Regions from separate parts of the Homo sapiens genome. Here region 1 is linked to region 2. The links are contacts of gene promoters, found by promoter capture Hi-C in human tissues and cell types (Jung and others, 2019). All regions are on one chromosome and are shown on one strand. The core of a region is centred on a gene start or on the middle of the fragment in contact, and the rest is flanking DNA. Distances in the headings are between cores, read along the strand shown. Region 1 overlaps FREM2 (FRAS1 related extracellular matrix 2). Region 2 holds the start of FREM2 (FRAS1 related extracellular matrix 2).

What was found. Contacts are between HindIII fragments. The study calls those that stand out against the background at their distance.
Region 1: a contact is called between a fragment that was not itself captured here and the fragment with the promoter of FREM2 in region 2, in 2 of the 25 tissues and cell types used here (aorta and dorsolateral prefrontal cortex).

What each region holds. Positions count from the first base shown.
Region 1 is chr13:38,817,476-38,823,664 of GRCh38, reverse strand. All of the region lies in intron 6 of FREM2 (FRAS1 related extracellular matrix 2), which reads right to left. FREM2-AS1 (FREM2 antisense RNA 1) reads left to right here. Exons shown (of 2, transcript NR_146963.1): 2 at 1,563-1,981. Among named protein-coding and RNA genes, the nearest start is that of FREM2-AS1, 7.0 kb to the left of the region's middle. The HindIII fragment of the contact is 3,855 bases long and covers 2,846-6,189 here.
Region 2 is chr13:38,683,249-38,689,450 of GRCh38, reverse strand. FREM2 (FRAS1 related extracellular matrix 2) reads right to left here and starts at 2,374. Exons shown (of 24, transcript NM_207361.6): 1 at 1-2,374. The coding sequence starts at 2,106. It overlaps LINC00437 (long intergenic non-protein coding RNA 437), which reads left to right and starts at 2,776. Exons shown (of 3, transcript NR_126377.1): 1 at 2,776-3,012; 2 at 5,664-5,764. The HindIII fragment of the contact is 7,279 bases long and covers 1-6,202 here.

The DNA.
Region 1 (6,189 bases), core at 3,524-6,023, 130 kb before region 2:
CAGCTGAATTTTGAGGCATTAATATGAGTTAGCCAGCTGATGAATGAGGAGGTAGAGAGGGAGAATTTTTCTTCAAGTAGAAGCAGAAATAGAAACTAAAGATAAGTAGACAGCCTCATATGTTTGGGGGCTGCAGAGTTTGCTGTGGTATTGTATGCTGCTTGGAATGAGGAGATGGGGTGAACAAGGAAAGCAGGGAGCCATGGCCAGGCCATGCAGGACCTTGTGGTGGGAGCCTTGTCCTAGAAATTAGCAGGTGAGAGGTGTGCTCAGTGTTAAAAAAGGGGGGAACATGATGATGAAATGTGCATTTAGGGTTCTGGAGGATGAATGGTCTGGTGGAAAGGGGTGGGATATGAGCAAACTGGAAGCAGGCGGCCTAGCTAGTTGGCAAGTGCAAGAATCCAGGCAAGATAGGAAGTTCGTTTGGATCAGGTGATGGCAGTTCAGACGAGGAAAAATAATAAGGATATAATATTTAGAGATATGAAGGAGGTAGAATCAAGGAGTTGGGGTGAGGACTGAGAGGAAGGAATCCAGTACTCATAGAACCATTCACCAAGATTAGGGATAAGCGGGAATAAAACAGGGTAGGGCAAGGACTAAGTGTTCTAATCTATTGAGTTTTTCTCCTGATTTGTTTTGATGCTTTTCAGAATCTAAGACATTAAGTCTGGTAAGATGTGTGCCTACATCACTTTTCTTGCACTGTTTAAAAAGAAGAAGAAAAAAAGAGTTTTCACACATGACAAAATCATTGTGTCTTCCATAATTACATCACAGGGTTTGATGAAGTTTCCTTCTTCACAGAGATGTCAAGGGATGTGTTGAACAGAGTCATAAAATTTTCCTCAGGGAGCTAACCTAACATCTTCTACTGCAAAGCGTTGATTTGTCCTCTCAGTATACTGAACTAGATCGAATACATATTACTATTTAGATATACTGTCATTTTAAAAACTTCAAAATATATGTTGAGGACCAACATCACAGAAAACATGCATGCTAGGTTTGTTGGGAGGATAGCGATCCCCTGGAAAGACTTATAAAACTGTACTGTTTTCAACCCCCTATTTAGCGCAGACAGCATTCCACCAGTTTATGAGATGCAGACCGTGCACGCTAGACCCACAGGCATAAAGCAACACCTAGACCACTTCTAATTTTATCTTGTATTTATAGGATCATCTTGCAGCACTGAGACTGTGAAAGACTGTGGCTTTGGCTTTTTAAAGCCTTCTCTGGCAGGGAGTGTGCTCTCAAAAATTACCCTTCTGAATAAGTGTGATTCTTAAAAAAAAAAAAAAAAAAAAAAAAGAAAGAAAGAATGGGCTCCTTGTTGGCATTTTGACCACAGAGCTTCAGCTCTGTAGTATACTTCCTGGGCCTGTGAAACCCATTGTTTGTGAAACACCCTCAGGGAAATTGAAGCTGAGATATATTTCAGCTCTATAAGGTGTAAAAAGAAAGCTATTTTTTTCCTCTCACAATACCTATATTCTTGCTTTTTAAAAAGGTACACACGAGTAAAGATCTATCAGCTGTTTTATTTCTTTTCACAGGAATGTGTTTAAACTCAGGAACTGCTGAATTGTACTGTAACTTGGCTCATCCCAAATAGTGCAGTTGTCTTCACAATGGAGAGACTGTCACAGCCTAAAAAGACACGTGACTCTGAGCATCAGTTTACTGGCTGCCCACTCAATGATTCAGACTCCTCCATTCTTTGTGTGGAAGAGAACTGGCCTTCCGGGAGCCTGAGGCCAAGTGAGAGAACCTTCTGAAAGCCGTCACTGCATGGGGAGCCTGGACTTACCCTTTGCCTTGTTGGAGCTGTTTGTCTATTTCCGTCTCGAAGTTCTCTATAGATTGGGCTAGTGTCTTTCACCACTGTGTCCTTAATGTCCTGGAGACTGCCCGCCACTTAGCAGGGGCCTATAAGCACGTGAAGTGAGGCCAGGACAAATCCTTATGCCCTCTACCCTCGCACAGCATCTGGAAACATGAGAGATGTTAGGTGTGTGTTTTAAATGAATAAATGTGTGAATTCAAATTATTTCAAACGCCTGTTTCAGAGAGACAGAAAAAAGACCTGTTTCTTAGAAAAAAGAGAAAAAAAGATGATTTATTTCTCCAGTAGTATGAAGGAAAAGCTTCATCCATCATTTTAAGTGCTTCAAATGGTTACAAATGGCCTAGAGAAAGAAGGCATTTTTAGTTTTAGCTATATGTTTAAAATTTCAATATAAATTATTATTGTGATTATTTGTCACATACTTTACTGTTTGTCAAATAACAATAGCACTATATTTGACTGGGCAATCTTGTATCTTTCTAGGTCAGTGTAAGGTTCTCTACATAATTTAAGGAAGATTTTAGGCCAATTACAAAAAAAAAATGTATAAGATTTACAACACAGGAATAAATCAGGGAAAAGAAGATCTGATGTCCAGTCAGACAGGATGAAGGCCTATTTCTCAAGGAAAACATAACACCTATCTGTTCCCTCTGAAAGGTAACATTTATCTACAAAGAGAAGGAAGGTTCACAGAGAACATAGGGACACCATAAGGACTCCTAATGAGACAACTACTTCTGGTTTTATAAAGAAGCAAACTAGCAAGTTTCACATCTCTACAGTGACCACTGGTATATCCACCAATGTCAGAAAATAGTACATCTATTACAAAATGTTTTCTTAATATTTCATTCTAATACCATACGTGGAGATGCTGCTGTCTGTTTAGTAATGGAGGTACATGTTTTCAACAGTAGACCATAGGTGCATAGTGCATTTTCTAGACTTAAAATAATCATAGCCCTGCAAGTCCATGGCAGCATTTCACAGATGCTGGCCTCTCTTTACATCACTGAGGCATGCAGGCCAAGACTTTGAAGTGCTCTGTTTTCAGCCAAGTTGCCATGTTTGGCTTTTCAGCATTTTCTGTATGTTTTATGATTTCAATAAAAAGATATGCCAGACCTCTCTGGCCAGCAAATAATTAGGACTTTTTGATCACAACAATAGTATCTAGTAAGAGATCTTTTCCATTTAATCAACTTTTTGTGTATTTTATTGGTTTTTATTATAAAATTCATTTTAATAGTTTTAAATTTACAAATTCTGAAGTCTAGTATCTGAGAAGCTGCTTCTCAGATTTATGTGATTTTTAACACTAAAATGGAATTTTCTGTGACTGAGATCTTGAGGTTCCTATAAATGTTTAGTAAACTGCTTCCAGGGTTTTAGTGGTAATAAATCAGAAATATGTATTCTTTGATGTCTGTAAGATAGTATTGCATGGCCAGCATTCACTTTTCTGTTTGGAAGAGATGGGAATCAGGCAGATAGTGTTACTGGGAAAAAGACAAAACAAACTCAAGACAATATTTATCCACGAGGACTTGACAAGAGAGCCAAAATGCAATCTTTCAGAAAGGCAACCATTTTCACCGGGTCATTTGCTAGATGATGTGGAAAAAGCAGTGCTATTCCTTGTCCAATTGAAGTACCAGATTGAGACTGCACTAATAAGCTTTGCTAAAGATCCAAGGGGAGTTATAATTGATAAAAGATCAACAAGAATAGTTCATTTACAAGTTATTCTATTATCTATGACATTTCAATTATCAATATTCAGGTGCTATATGTCTATAAAAGTATATATAGCTTGTTTCATCTTGTAAACTTCCCTATTAGGATAACTAATAATAACTTTGAGTATTACATTGTAGAATCAGAAGGTCATTGTGTATATTAAATATACTTACTGCTAGTATAATATGAAGTGTGCTGCGTAGTTGTTAATGCCATAGTCTCTTTAGTCAGGCTGGCTAAATGCTTACCGGCTGTTTGACCTTGGGCAAGTTATCCAACCACTCACAGATGATAAAACCCAGGCATAATAAAACTTGGCTCATAATTTGTGTATGTGCATATGTGTATTAAATAATTCAGGTAAAAGATTTAGCACATCTTGGAAGGTGTTCATGATAGCTATGATTATATAAAAATATATGATATCTACAAAGCCCTAAAAAATAAAGACATAAGTTAATTTAATATTGTGAACAGCATGATCCTAATCGGTACCACAACCTTGATATCCTAAAACCACTCTAGCAGACTACATATCTGTAAATTTACACTCCATGAATTTGAGGGCTCATTTCTGGGTGAACCAGCCCTATGTCCTGCCACAGCTCCCTGTGCTCACTTTCTTGTGGGGAGAAAGGTCATTCTTCAGTGTAAATTATACAAAATGGTTAGTTTTTCTCATAAAGAAGTTTGGAGCCTTTGCCTTTTCTGGTAATGGTGGTGAAATGTTTTTATGTGACTAGCAGGAGAAATTCAAGTGGCTGCTTGCCAAGCTTGTGTGTGTGCAGTGGAACAAAGCTCTTTAATGCTTTTCCTGTGGTGAGCAGTGCATTGTATCAACAGTTTCAAAAAGACCAGGCAAGCGCACAGCAGCATAGCAGCCAGGGCCTTTGGAGGTTCTGGCCATAACAGGTTGAGTCAAATGGACTCCTATTGCTAACAAACCCACTACAGCAGTCTCTGATCTTTGCTCATTTGCCTTCTTCTTTGTTTTTAAATTTGTTTTTTAATTGACACTCTGTAATTTCCCATATTTATGAGGTGCAACTTGATGTTTTGATATATTTCTGTATTGTATAATGACACAATAAGGGTAGTTAGTATATCCAGCACATCATGCATTATCTCTTTGTGATGAGAACACTCAAAAGCCTTTCTTCTAGCATTTTTTTTTTGAGACGGAGGCTTGCTCTGTTGCCCAGACTAGAGTGTAGTGGTGCGATCTTGGCTCACTGCAACCTCTGCCCCACTAATTTTTGTATTTTTAGTAAAGACGGGGTTTCACTATGTTGGCCAGGCTGGTCTCAAACTCCTGATCTCAGGTGATCCACCTGCCTCAACCTCCCAAAGTGCTGGGATTACAGGCATGAGCCATCATGTCCAGTCAGCTTTTTTATAATATATAATATTTTATTGTTAACCATAGTCACACTACTGTGCAATAGAACACTGGAATTTATTCCTTCTATGTAATTGTAACATGTACCTATTAATCAACCTTTCTCCATCTACCTCTCCTTTCTCCTTTTCCCAATCTCTGATAACCACAGTTCTATTCTCTGCTTCAATGATATCAACTTTTTTTCCTTTGTAGATTCCACATATGAGTGACATCATGTGGTATTTGTCTTTCTGTGTCTGGCTTATTTCACTTAACATGGTGTCCTCCAGGTTCACCCATGTTGTCTCAAATGATAGGATTTCATTATGTTTTATGACTGTATAGTATTCTGTTGGGTTTTTATACCACATTTTTTCATCTATTCATCCATTGTTGAATACTTAGGTTGAGTCCATATCTTAGCTATTGTAAATAGTGCTGCAATAAACATGGGCATGCAGATACCTCTTCAACATATGGATTTCAAATATTTTCAGTAAATACTCAACTGTGGGATTGCTGAATAATATGGGAATCCTATTTCTAGTTAATTGAGGAACCGCCATACTGTATTCCATAATGGCTGTACTAGCTTACAACCTCACCAACAGTACGTCAGTGTTCCCTTTTCTCCACATTCTCACCAACACTTGTCTTTTTTTATAATAGCCATTCTAACTGAAGTGAGATGGTATCTTATTTTGGTTTTGGTTTGTGTTTCTCTGATGGTTAGCAATGTTGAACATTTTTTATATACCTGTTTGTCATTTGTATGTCTTATTTTGAAAAATGGCCTTTTGCCCATTTTTGATTAATATTGTTATTGTTGTTTTGCTATTATGTCCCTTATATATTCTAGATATTAACCCGTTTTCGCATCTATAGTTTGCAAATATTTTCTCCCATTCTGTAGGTTGTCTCTTCACTCTCTTAACAGTTTCTGTTGCTATGGAAAAGCTTTTTAGTTTGATATAATCCTATATGCCTATTTTTCCTTTTGTTGACTATCCTTTTGAAGTCTTATCTAAAAAGTCCTTGCCCAGCCCAATGCTCTGATGTGTTTCTCCTATGTTTTCTTCTGTTAGCTTCAGATTTTACACTAAGATCCTTAATCCATTTTGAGTTGATTTTTATATATAGTGAGAGGTAGGGATCTAGTTTCATTCTTCTGCACGTAGATAAACTAATTTTCCCAATACCATTTATTGAA
Region 2 (6,202 bases), core at 1,125-3,624:
CTCCGGAGGGAGGCGATCCACAGGATGGATACGAATCACAAACCGCTGTAGCCCGGACTGATTAGGAGGGTCATGGTTATCCTGGACTCTAAATGTGAACTGGTCTGTGACTGGCCCAGGACTATGGGGCCCAGAGTGTCTATAGAACAGCCTGCCCTCTGTTATGTCCTGCTGCTGCCACTCTGTCACTGTTCGCTCATAAAATGCCCCCTCCTTCCTCCAAAGGCCTCTGAGAAGTTCCTGCTTCTCATGGGGAGGGTGAGTTTGGCGGAGAAGCAGATGCCCCGTAGTTAAGAAGGGTGACTCCAGCACAAAAAGCAGCAGAGAATCATCTGAATCCATGTCAGTTGCACTCAGGGAAAGGGGCAGGATGGGCACTGTTTCACCCTCTGCCAGTGTCAGCCCCGTGTTGGCATTGAGAACAGGTGGCTGGTCATCCACAGGCACTAAGGTGATGGGGAACAGAAACTGTACCTGGTGCCTGCCTCCTCCATCCACCATGCGAAGCACCAGGTTGTCGCTCAGCGAGCCGTCTCTGTCATCATGCTGGTAGACCACCTGGCCGGCTGCCAGCTCAGCCACTGTAAAGCTCTTGGGAGCAGAGCTGCCACTGGAAGCACCCAGAATGACAAGGTGACCATGCCGGAGCCCAGCCACCACCTCTAGCCGCACTGCTTCTAGGTCATCCTCATCGCTGATGACCAAGTTTTGCGGACCACTGCCTGCAGGGCCTGTGAGGGGCCGAGACTGACCCTCATAGAGAATAAGACCGGTATTCCGGGTGACCACCGGAGCCATTGTGTTCATGGGCTTCACCACTACCATGAAGGCAAAAGGGTCTGAAGCTGCTCCTTCTAGATCCACTACCTCCAATTCCAGTTCAAAGAGGCGCTCCTGGTCAGAGTCTTCAGAAGGGGGCTGGTAGGCAATCTTCAGGAGCCGCAGATCCCTCTGAGTGAAGGAGGAAAGGGGCAGGCTGCGATCATCGGTGCTCACCAAGTAGCCCTGGCCAGGCTGGAATGGAGAAGTAAGGTTGAAGATCAACAGGTCAGAGGGAGACTCAGCATCCTCGGCTGCCAGCATGTCTGGGGTCAGGGCCGTCAGTACAAACTGGTCCACCTCCATCATCATCATGGCCACGAAACTGGGCTTGGGTGCAGTGTTCTCGGCCCCTCCTCGGATCCTCACCAGAACCTGGAAGTGCTCGCGTTTCAAAGCAGGGCTGCCCACAGGAGCCCCTCGTGAACGCAGCTCCACCACCATGGGTATCCAGTCCCTGTTTGGTGAGCGACTGGCGGCTGTGTGGCGATAGCGCACGCCTAGTTCCTGGAAAGCTTTGCAGTCCATCAGGAGAGTCTCCGGGGCGCCTCCCTCTCTGGCTCCTCCAGGGACCTGCGGGTAGTGGAGGAGTTCTCCATAGCGAGGCAGCGCGCCCAAGCCGGACAGGATGCCCACGCGGCACTCCTCTGTCTCGGGCTGGAAGGCGAACTCCAGGCTCCGCGCGTCCAGGGCATTGCTGGTCCCCAGCAGCTCTTCCACGACCAGAGGCAAGTTCCGAGTCACAACCTCCAGCTGGGTGAAGACCACCTCCACCTCCAGTACCAGTGGTAGCACTACTGCCCCTCCGGGCGCGTCATAGCGCAGCTGCAGCCGGACGCGGTCCCGAGACGGGCTGCGCGCGCCCAGGTGAGAGTAGCGCACCTCGCCAGGGCCAAAGTCGCACGGGAAGCGCTTGGGACTCAGGCGGCCCGGTCGCTGGGCCAGTGCGTCGTTGTCTAGTACCGAAACCGCGCAGCGGTCCCCGGGCTGCACCTGCAACACCAGGTCATGCAGGGGATCCAGCCAGACTTCACGGCCGAAAGGCACCCGGAGTCCGCGGTTCGCCAGCACTATGGCCTCCTCAGCAGGGACCCCTGCAGCCCCCGCGAGACCAGGGGACAGCAACGCCCTGCCGAAGGCAGCGGGCTGTGCCGGGACGCGGCTTACCAGTGACAGGAGAAGCAGCAGCAGCAGCAGCAGCCGGGGCGGCGGTGGCGGTCCTGGTTGAAAGCTGGTGGAGTTGCCTGTCCGGCGCGAGGATAACCCGGGAGTCCCGGCTGAGTGCATGGTCCCGGTGTTCGGGCTTGGACAGGTCAGCCTGAGAGCATGCGAAGTCGGTCCCCGGGCAGACAACAAGAGACACCGCCGGGAAGTGCCAGGAACTCCGCGCGTTGCCCGCGGGGTCCTCCTGTAGCCGGGGCTGGGCCAGAAGGATGGCAAAGTTGCGCGGCGCCGTCCGGGCTGGAGCCGCAGCCGAGGAGCCGAAGCCTTCCCAGGCCGTCCAGCTCCGCCGCTAGCGCCTCAATCGCGCGGAGAATTGAATCCCTCCACTTCTACTTTCCAGGTCCCCGGACCCTGGGCTTTGAGGGAAATCCCTCCGCTCGCACCCCTTACTCCAGTCCTCCCAGGTGGCCAATCGTTGGTCGGGGGAGGAGGTGCGGAGCTGAGGGTTGGGTAGTAATTTCTGCCAATCAGCTCTTAGAGGCCAAGGCGGGGAAACTGCGGGGAGGGGAGGAGATAGAGGCGCAACAGGTTGTCCTGGAAGTGAGGGAAGAAGTGGCCAGGAGTTGCCCACCCCTGCTTGCGCTACTCTCTGGGCTGCTATTAATAGATCTGGTACTCCTGCAGAGGAGCCGGAACACACTGCTGTGCTGGGTTCACTTCATCTGCCGGCGACCGAGGGTTACCCATTTTAGCCACCCCCACCCCTCCGCCCTAGTCAATGAAATCCCGCGCAGGGCATGGCCATTTCCCAAGGAAACTTGCAAACCCAGGGGAAAGTTAGACGCAATGCTTTTTGAGTTTGAAGCGAAACCCAGAGCGTTTGAGAAGAAATTCTGGGGCATATTTGCAAAAGGACAGCTGGAATTAAAAGCCATAGCTAGAGCAGGTTGCACTCCAGCCCAGCCCCCTTCGGCGCGCCCAGACGCTGCCTTCTCCTCGTGAATTACAATGGGCACAGTCCTCCGATTGGTGAGTTTTTAACAAGCCCCTCCTTTGCAACCGAGGTTCACAGAGTAAAAGGGAAAAAGGGCATTTGGAATGCGTGAGAAATGCAGTCTGATCAGAATTGCTAGTCTTGCACCAAAGAATAAATTCTAGGGAATGTGGCCCCAGGCGCTCCCAAATCCGACTCTGTTAGGGTAGCTGTCATTAGAGACGTTCCTGTTCTCTTCGCAGTAATTAGACCAAGCACAAACTAAATCTACTTGTCAGCATCACATTTCTTTGCATGCCACGAAAATTGATAAATATCCGGAGGGCACACTAAAATAGTTTAGCTCTCATTTCAGCCAACAGGTTTTGAAGTCAGAGCTTGAGCTCTTCCTGCCCCCTTGTGTTTGTTTGGTTTTAGTAGTGTGTAGATTCCCTTTCTAAAAGGTTTTTTTATCAACTCTCCTCCCCCCCTCAAAAAAGATCCCTTGTAATTTAAACTTAATCATTTTCGGATTGGCTCCTAAGCAATCATAGTCAGAATGTTTTATTTAGGATAATATTTTTTTTCTCCAGTAATGCAAATCTGATTGCTAACAGGAGCATAGAATTGGAGTAATAGTCATAATTAGCCATAATTGCCCTTTTCCTGCTCCAAGGGATTTTGAATTTGGAAAAGAGGGAAATATAAGAAATTGTTAATGTCTTTTTACATTTCAGTCTAAATTGAAGCTAGAAGGTGCCTATGGGAGTAATTTCAGTAAGAAGTGCCTATCCTTTTAAGCCTTTGTGTTTTCAGCTTGAGCTCCTCCAGACCAGGATTTTGATCCTTGCTTGACACAGTTACAGCTATTTTCCAGGCTGCAGCACAAACTCTGTACATAAGTATGGCTGGGAGATGCCAGATTCCTTTCCATGAAACCTACTGAGTGGTGTCCGTTTCCAGGAATCATAGACAGGAAGTTCTAAAATCTTTCAAAAAGAAGCAAGAGATCAATTTAAAGGAGTCACTCATCCAAGCAAGTGTGCAAGCACGCAAACAAGTAACATTTAGTTAATTAAATATTAATTAAGATTATTCTGTGTGCTGTGCATTGTTTGAGGAGCTTTTAACTACAACTTAGAAACTGATGGATACATTTCACAATTTATTACAAAATGGGCATCCAGGAGCATAGAAGGGATGTGGCCCTTACTTTAAATACATTAGAAAATCCCCCATCTAACTCTTTACCAATTTCCTATTTGCTTTGTCATTATTATTTTATAATTTATATGATTATTTATTATCGCATACAGAATTCAAAATGCGGAACATGGGGGGAAATTCTGCTATTTCCTGTTCCAAATTAAAACAAATAAGATGCCAAGTAAACTAGAAAACCAATTTCAGAATATGGCTCTTTTTATAGTAAATTTCAAATTCTGGTTGTGTGTTTGTATTGAAAAATGTCATCTGGAAGCAAAGTGGCCTTATCCAGGCATTGTGACCCTGGGTAAATTCTGAGCAGAACCAGACTAACAGCTTGACCCTTGATGCTTCTTAGTGGCTCCAGGGTTTTCCTTTCCTCCTTTTAAAGTCCAACTCTGTTTGACTTGCAAGCAATGATAAGATCAGCATTTGAAGTATGGTAGTATGCCTCAAGGGCAGAGTTCAATATTTTGTTTCATGGTAAGAAAAATACAGGACCACATTTATTTTTACATAGCCTAAGGAAATCAATAAACTATAATCTTTTTGACTTTTTAATTTTGTCTGCCTTGATCGAAGTGATAGAATGATTTTTAGAGATTATTATTATTTTTTGGTAAATGTCTTAGTTATTTGTCTTGTAAATCAAATAGAAGGTAACTCAAACTATCATTTGGCTAAATATATTTTACATTGATGATCATTGACAAAACAATGAGATGTCAAATTTTTATTTGAGAGCAAATATTATTGATGAAGATCATCTCTGTTTAGGCTCCTAGTTCAGTGTTAAAAGATATGAATGCTAAAATAGCAAGAAAATTATTATTTTACAGTCAGCGTTCTCAATATCACTCAATTTCATGAAGAATAAGTTAGCAAATGTGATTTTTTTTTTTTTTTTTTTTTTACAAAATTCGAGCTTAACACTTCACTTCTTACTTCCTTAAGCCTTATAACGCTTCCTATACATACCATGGGCAAAATATTCCTTAAAATACATTCTTAAATTTGTTTGCTACTTTAAAGTCATACCAAAGTGTTGTCTCATATCAACTTAGAGTTAAAATTATTGATTGCTAAAACTCACAGACTAAGATTAAGCACTAGAGAACTTGTTTTCTAAAATAAAGGAAGCAATGTAATTAATTTATGATTCAGGCAAGGTATTTAGGTGGAAATACCTAATACCTAATACCTAGTACCTAGTAGGTCTACCTAACTATTACCTAACTACTACCTATTAGTAGGAAATACCTAATACCTAGTAGGTCTAGGACTGGAGGTCAGACTGGAACTAAAAATACATCTAGTTAAATTTTGAGAATTATAGTTTTCATTATATAGTTTATTTCATTTTCCTTATGCTTCTCCACCGGGTCATAAGATTCCAATAGAGAAGATTGCCTTATAGACACTTTTAAAATACTTACAGATGAATTATTGAAGTTTCTTGTGAAACATCTTTATTCATTCTCAACAAATGCTTATTCTTCAGTGGCATCAAAACCATGGTTTGACCATAAACACAAAACTTCATCGATTTCAGAGCAGCACTGAGGGGTGAGGACAAACAGCTACGGACTCATTAACCAAGAGGTGGGTTCCAGTAGCGGTTTTGACATCCACTAAATTATGACTTACAGCAATCCTCTTTATGTTTTGCAACTATAGTCTTCTCAACTGTAAAACAAGAGAGTCAGTCTTTGTGGACAAATTCCCTTTTGGTTTTAATAAGCTTGTGGCATAAGACCAAATTTATGGACGACCTGCTATTTTGCTTCCTCATGTCCCTTGGCCATTGGCTATAGGTCTCATTCTTGCCAGAAACACTACTAATCAAAAATGTATCACTGCTACTAGGTCAGAAAATGTAGAACTCAAATTCATGCCCCTTGCGAACGGCTCAATTGTTTCTGCCTAAAATATACAGAACAACATTTGTATTAATTGACGTGGACAGCTTAAATACAACATCTCTAAGTAACTATTTTTAAATAAAAAATAAAATTGAAATAAAAGTCTAGAAATGCAAAA